Linked DNA regions of Homo sapiens: region 1 is linked to region 2. Evidence: promoter capture Hi-C in 16 types of primary human blood cells and fetal thymus (Javierre and others, 2016). All regions are on one chromosome and are shown on one strand. Each heading gives the region's core, a stretch centred on a gene start or on the middle of the fragment in contact. The rest is flanking DNA. Distances are from core to core; before and after follow the strand shown. Region 1 holds the start of TSHZ3 (teashirt zinc finger homeobox 3). Region 2 holds the start of PDCD5 (programmed cell death 5).

What was found. Contacts are between HindIII fragments. The CHiCAGO score rates a contact against its expected background, and 5 or more counts as called.
Region 1: the fragment with the promoter of TSHZ3 here is called in contact with the fragment with the promoter of PDCD5 in region 2 in 2 of 17 cell types (M2 macrophages and monocytes); the score reaches 6.4 in M2 macrophages.

The regions. Positions count from the first base shown.
Region 1 is chr19:31,347,835-31,351,231 of GRCh38, forward strand. TSHZ3 (teashirt zinc finger homeobox 3) reads right to left here and starts at 1,602. Exons shown (of 2, transcript NM_020856.4): 1 at 1,346-1,602. The coding sequence starts at 1,385. It overlaps TSHZ3-AS1 (TSHZ3 antisense RNA 1), which reads left to right. Exons shown (of 3, transcript XR_002958388.2): 1 at 1-1,083. The HindIII fragment of the contact is 11,306 bases long and covers 1-2,014 here.
Region 2 is chr19:32,579,345-32,582,541 of GRCh38, forward strand. It overlaps PDCD5 (programmed cell death 5), which reads left to right and starts at 1,846. Exons shown (of 6, transcript NM_004708.4): 1 at 1,846-1,983; 2 at 2,851-2,888. The coding sequence starts at 1,918. RefSeq lists an enhancer at 1,296-1,385 and silencers at 1,596-2,325, 1,671-1,847. The HindIII fragment of the contact is 4,450 bases long and covers 1-2,450 here.

The DNA.
Region 1 (3,397 bases), core at 352-2,851, 1.2 Mb before region 2:
GGGTCTGGAGTGCAGAGTGCAGCCAACGTGTGAGGTCCCCTGGCAGTGCCGGCTGGCATGATGGAAATTATGGGCACTCAGGGCACCATGGCTACAACGCCTTCCTCCAAGATGGGCACCAGCCAATGCCCTGACCCTACTCTCTGCCCTTCCCTCTTAACATCAAAAGAGAAGTAAAAGAAAGGAAGAGAAAAGAAAAGAAAGGAAGCCCCACTTAACCCTCCCCTTCAGGGAGCATCTGAACCTCTGCACATCTGAGTGTTACTCATATCAAAATACATCACGTCCATATGTGGTCCTCTCGGCAATCCGCCCCAAATCCCAAAGTTGCACTGACAGGGCCCTCCTGACGTCACAGAGCTTGGCCTCACTATTGCAAGTGATTTATTGATGTTTATTGGGAATGAATAGATCAAAGGCAGCAGCATGACGGGCGATCAATCAGTCATCAAATCAAGGATGGCAACGGGCCAGAAACCCTTCTTCCAGGCAACATGCCCCCAACCGACATTATTGCAAAATAATGTTATGTGTGTGGTTTTTGTTTTGTTTTCAATGATGCGTTTTCCAGAAAAGAAAAGAAAAAAATCGGCTCAGTCTTAACAGGAGTTGACACTCCCGGTTAAAGAAGAAGAAAAAAAAAAAAAAAGGAGGAACAAAAAAGTACTCAGACACGTCCCAGAACTAAGTGCTATGCGGAGATGAGGGTGGGAGCAGCAGTACAAGGAGGGGGTGGGGGCGAGGAAACACAAACAGGGGAGAAGGAAACGCCAGCATCTAACATGGACTTGACAGTCATCTGACAATACCCAGACCCTGTGCGCTCCGGGTTCCACCGCTGTGCCCAGTTTGGGCCCAAGAAATGAGGAATCAATCGTGTTAGTACTAAGGTGGCCGAGGGGACCGGCTCGCTCACTCGTTCGCGCTCCCTGGCTCGGCGGACACCAGGCAGTCCCCCGGCGGTCGGCCGCTCGGAGGACGCGGAAGATGTCCCGGGGAACTCAGGTGACCCCGCCCGCCACCCACAGAAAGAGCCAGGCCGGGGTTGCTTCCCATTCCCTCTGCAGCCGGAGAGCTGAGGAGGTAGGGACCTGGCGCGGCTCAGCGCGCTCCGCGAGCGGCTCCCCAAATGGGTGCGAGAGGGAAGAGGGCAGAGCGCGGCGGGGCGTCCGGGGGGCGCCCGGTACCCGAGGCGGGCGCACGCACCCAAACAGGAGAGCGGCGCCCGGAGTTACTCAGTGCGGGCAGAAGAGCGGGGCGAGGAGCGGGGTCGCGCCCGCTGGAGGCGCGGGGCGAGCGGAGGAAGAGGAGGAGGAGAGCAGAAGGAAGGGGAAGCGGCTCGTACCTGCTGCGCGCCGGGGCGCCTGCTGCTTCCTCCTCGGCATGATGCTTCTCCGGCGACTGCCACTGCCGCCGCCGCCGCCGCTGCCGGGCTGAGGACAGGGAGGGAGGGGGCGGCGGGCCCGCGGGGGGGCGAGGCGGGCCTGCTCTCAGCCTCCCCCCCGGAGAGCGGCCGCCCGCAGGATGCTGCTGCGCCCAGGCTCTCCGCGTCCCCCCCGCGCCGCGCTCCGCCGCGAACCCCGAACGTGCGGAGGGAAGAAGGAGGGCGGGCGAGGGAGGCTCGGGGAGGGAGGAGCACGGGGGGGAGGAGGAGGCAGAGGAGGAGGAGGTGGAGGAGGAGGAGGAGGACCGCGCTGCCGGCGGAATGGGAAGTTTGACAAATCGCTCCAGAGGCCAGAGGAGGAGGGGGCGGGGAGGAGCGGCGGCCCTGCCCCCCCCCGCCCCGTCCCCAGACGAGGTGCGCGGGGTTCGGGGCTGGGGGGCGGGGAGAGGGCGGGCAGAGCGGTGGGAGGAGGAGCGCGGGAGCGGCCCGGACCGGTACTGCCCCGGCCCCCGCCCCTAGGCCGGGGGTCACGGCATCCGGGGGGACGCGCAGCCGCCGCCGCGGCCCGGGGCTCGGCGGTCCAGTCTTCTGCCCGTGGCGCGGCTGGAGCGGCGGCGTCGGCAACAGGCAAGCTTAAAGGAAAAGGAGATGATCGTGTCAATCGCCCGCCCGCGGGGGCGCCGCGCCCCCGCCCCCGGCCCCAGGCCCGCGTGGGACCCCCGCCCCGCCAGCGAAAGGGGTGCCGCCCCTCCGCCTCCGCCCCGTGCGCACACGCGGGGGCGCGGCGCCAGCCCCGCCGAGCCCGTCCCGGGGCGCTCGTTACCCCCCACCCCTATTCCCACCCAGCGTTCGTCCCCAGCCACCCCCCAGCTGCCCCACCCGGCTCGCACTCCTCTCCACCCGCCGACTCCGGAGCCCCCAGCGTGGTCCCCGGGCCGGGGCTGGCGTCCCCCGGGGAAGCCAGAGCCCACGGGCAGGCCCCCTCCAGGGAGGAGGCGGGCGCGGGCCGGGGCGGGTGGGGGCAGCCCTCAGACCCCGCGCCACCCAGCTCCTCCCCCAGGACCCGCCGTAGCCACTTCCCCCAATTTTTTTTCCCCGGACAAACTTTCCTGGGCCCGTCCCGGGGGTCGGTGTGGGAGGGGGTTCCTTCAAGTTTCCTCTCCTGACTTTGGGATGATCAGGGTCCCTCCACCCCGCCCCTCGCCCCCGGGAGCCGGGCCGCGCCCCCCATCCACGGCGCGGGCCGATCCTAGGGCGGGACGGGGGCGGGAGAAGGAAACCGGGCTCCCCTGCCCATCCCCCGCCAGGGGCTCCCCCCGAGAGCCTAGGGGGCCGCCGCGCCGTGTCCCGCGCCCGGCCTGCCGGGGCTGCTGGACTAGAGGGATTGATTATTGATTGGTGATCGGGGTCGCTGAGGCTCCGGGCCGGCCCGGCCGACTGGCCGCGGCAAGAAGGAGCTGGCTGGGCGGCGTGGGCGGCGGGGCGACGCGGGCTCACTTACGGGCGGCGGTGAGGGCGCGGGTGGGCCGGAGCTCATGCGGGCGACCCCCGGGCGGCGGCGGCTGAGCGGGAGCCGGAGCCCGAGCGGCGCGGGCGGCGGCGCATCGATGCGCTGCGGGCTCGATTGCGTCTCCCTGGGCCAGCTCTCAGGCCGGGAATGGGGCGGCCGCGCCGGGGCCGGCTCCGGGCGCTGCCGGGCGGCGGCTGCTGGAGCGCGGGGGCGGCCTCCGGGCCCACTATCCCCGAGGCGGCCCTGCGCCCGGGCGCGCCGGCTGGGGCTCTGGCGCTCTCGCAGGCCCCGAGGCCGACAGTCCCGGCGAGGGCGGGCGCCCCGCGCTCCAGCACCGGCTGCCTGAGCGCTCCTGGAGCAGCAAACCCCAGACTTCTTCCTCCTTCTCTCCTTCCTTCCTTCCCCCTCCCCTTATCTTTTTCTTTTTTTAGTCTCTTTCTCCCTCTTTTTCTGCCCTGTGTCCTTTTTATTTTTTCTCTACGACTGTTTTTGCAAGTTTGTTT
Region 2 (3,197 bases), core at 596-3,095:
CACCCATGTTCATAGCTGCATTATTAATAATAGCCAAAAGGTGGATGCAACCTAAGTGTCCATTGTCAGATGAATGGATAAACAAAATGTGCTAGGTATATCCATACAATGGAATATATTCAGTCTAAAGAGGGAAAGAAATTCTGCCACATGCTACAACATGAATGAACCTTTAAGACATATGCTAGGTGGAGTAAGCCAGTCACAAAAGGACAAATATTGTATGATTCCACATATACAAGATACCCAGAATAGGCAAATTCATAGAAACTAGAATGAGAATGGGTGGAGACTGATTATTATTCTCAGACCCCTCCCACCCCCACCCATTCCCATTAGAGGCCCCTCACACCAACCTAAATCTTTACTGGGTAGAGTTCCAGTTCAGGATGATAAAAAAAAAAAGTTGTAGAGATTGATGGTGGACAAGGTGGTTCATGCCTGTAATCCCAGCACTTTGGGAGACCAAGGCAGGTGGATCACTTTAGGTCAGAAGTTCGAGACCAGCTTGACCAACATGGTGAAACCCCATCTCTACTAAAAAATACAAAATTAGCCGGGCACAGTGGTGCACGCCTGTGGTCCCAGCTACTTGGGAGACTGATGCAGGAGAATCGCTTGAACCCGGGAGGTGGAGGTTGCAGTGAGCTGAGATTGAGTGACAACTGCACGATAATGCATTTCATACCACTGAAAAGTACACCTAAAAATGGTGAAAATGGTAAATTTTGTATTGTGTATATTTTGCCACAATTAAAACACACAGGCCAGGTGTGGTGGCTCATGCCTGTAATGTTAGCAGTTTGGGAGGCTGAGGCAAAAGGATTGCTTGAGCTCAGGAGATAGAGGCCAGCCTAGGCAACATAGCGAGACCCCATCTGTATTTTTTTAATGTAAAAAATAAAATAACACACACACAGACAAACAAACAGAATCTGTATGAGTCACACGTTTAGGTAGCTGAATATCCTCTCTGCCCCCAATTCCCCCAAGTCAAAGGCAGAAGGGATTTGTTCCACCAAAGAGTTTACACCAGCCACAGCTGCCCACTGCAGTATCCTCCCAGGAAAAGCCCTTTTGTGCGTGGAGGAGGCAGATGGCGAGGAGGCAGATGTGCACTTTTTTTTTTTTTTTTTTTTTTTTTAGAGACAGGGTCTGGCTGTGTCTCCCAGGCTGGAGTGCAGTGGCGAGATCAAGGCTCACTGCAGCCTCGAACTTCCGGGCTCCAGCGATCCTCCTGACACAGCCTCCTGAGTAGCTGGGACTACAGGTGCACATCACCGCGCCCAACTAGTTTTTTAAAATTTTAGTAGAGATAGGCTCTTGCCATATTGCCCAGGCTGGTCTCTAACTCCTGACCTCAAATGACCCTACCGCCTCCCGAAGCGTCGGGACCACAGGCGGCGAGCCACCGGCCGGCCTCTGTGTGCACCGAGGAGCCGGGCAGCCACCGCCACGATCCAGCTTTAGGACATTTCCATCACCCCACTCAGCCTTCCTGCGCCCCTGGTTCCTCATCTATAAATAGAGATAATATACGCCTAACCCTCTAGGTCACCAGCACATTGCACCCATAATTATTATACTTGTTGATGCCACACTTTCAGGTTTTAACCTTTCCAAAGCGCAGCCCCGCCCCAGCGCAGCCCAAGTCCCTGCACGCAGAGGCGCCGATCACGGGTGGGAGGTGGATCCCGGAGGCCCCGCCCCAGGCCCCGCCCCTCCGTGCGCCCAAGCTCGACCGCCTGAAATCGGGGAATCGGGCCTCTGCCGGCGCCCTGGCAGCGGCGCGGGGCGTGGCTCCGGGCTGGATTGGTGGCGCCTGGGCCCCGCGAGCGCCTGCGCAGTGGTCAAGGCCGCGCTCGCGCCGAGGGGCTGCGAGAGTGACCGCGGCTGCTCCAGCGCTGACGCCGAGCCATGGCGGACGAGGAGCTTGAGGCGCTGAGGAGACAGAGGCTGGCCGAGCTGCAGGCCAAACACGGGGTGAGCGCATCAGCCCCCGCCAGGCTTGGCCCTCGCGGGGCGCCGCCCTCGCCCGGAGTGTAGGGCGCGCCTCCGGGGCGGAGGCTCTGGGCGCCTCCCCGGGGCCCCGGTCCCCTGCGCTGCCCTGGCGGCCTCGTGGCCGGCTCAGAGGTGGCCTCGTCGCTTTCCTCGTCGCGAGGGGCCCAGGAGGCTGGCGGCGGGGGCCGCCACGTGCGGGACCTGCCCTGGCGTTGGGGTGTGGGGTCCCCTAGCCTGGAGCGGGCTCGTCCTGGCGGGCCTGGATCCAAGCACAATCTCAGCTTTTGGAGCCAGCAGCCGGACCGAATTCAGTTTTTCCGGAGTTCAGTTGTTATGACCCAAGTTTAGCCGACAGGTATTGAGGGTCCGCTGTGTTCCCGGTGCTGAGAGCGCGGCAGGGTCGGAGGAACGCTTGCCCCGCCGGGATGACAGGGAGGGGCCGCCTGGGAAGCTTGGATGGATCACACGCCCGGAGAGGCGTTTCTGATAAGGGACCGGGACCTTAGGGACGGAGGGCGCAGTCTTTGAGTTATCGTTGTCCCTAATACCGAGGCCCGTTTTATTTTCCAGAAATTATTCCTACATGTGAAACACGGTTTCGTAATACAGGGATTCCCCTCCCCAGGGTGCTCTGTATTCCAAAGCCTTCTGAGGTTGTGGTTTTAGACGTTCATCAAAACGTTGTAAGTGGGAACTAGTTCATTGATTTCTGTGAGGCCCAGTTTCTTATTTGGGGAGTTGTTTCTACCACCGCAAGAGACTGTTATGTATAGGAAACAACAGAACCGTTCCTTTTTCCCGCCGCCTCCCGTGAAATTTCTCTATTAAATTTAAGTTTTTTTTTTCCAGGATCCTGGTGATGCGGCCCAACAGGAAGCAAAGCACAGGTATGGGCTGGAAACGTGAACTTTTTGAAGGGTGGTTTCACCAAATGGATTTCTTTTGCTGTAGTTATTTTAAGCAGGTGTGTGACTCAGATTTTTTTGTTTTGCTGGAATGGTGATTTGGCCAAAATCATCCGCAGGGTATCTTCATTATTGTTAAATAAACACGTGTGCAGCTCCACATCAGACCTTGTATTGCAATTACTGGTTGATGTTTCTCTGCTACAATGTGAGTACCTTAAAAATGAGCCTGATAATAGGCAGCTGTGGCAGTTTCCTCGGCTGTGGGGGTGACGTGAGTCCGGTGCCTCA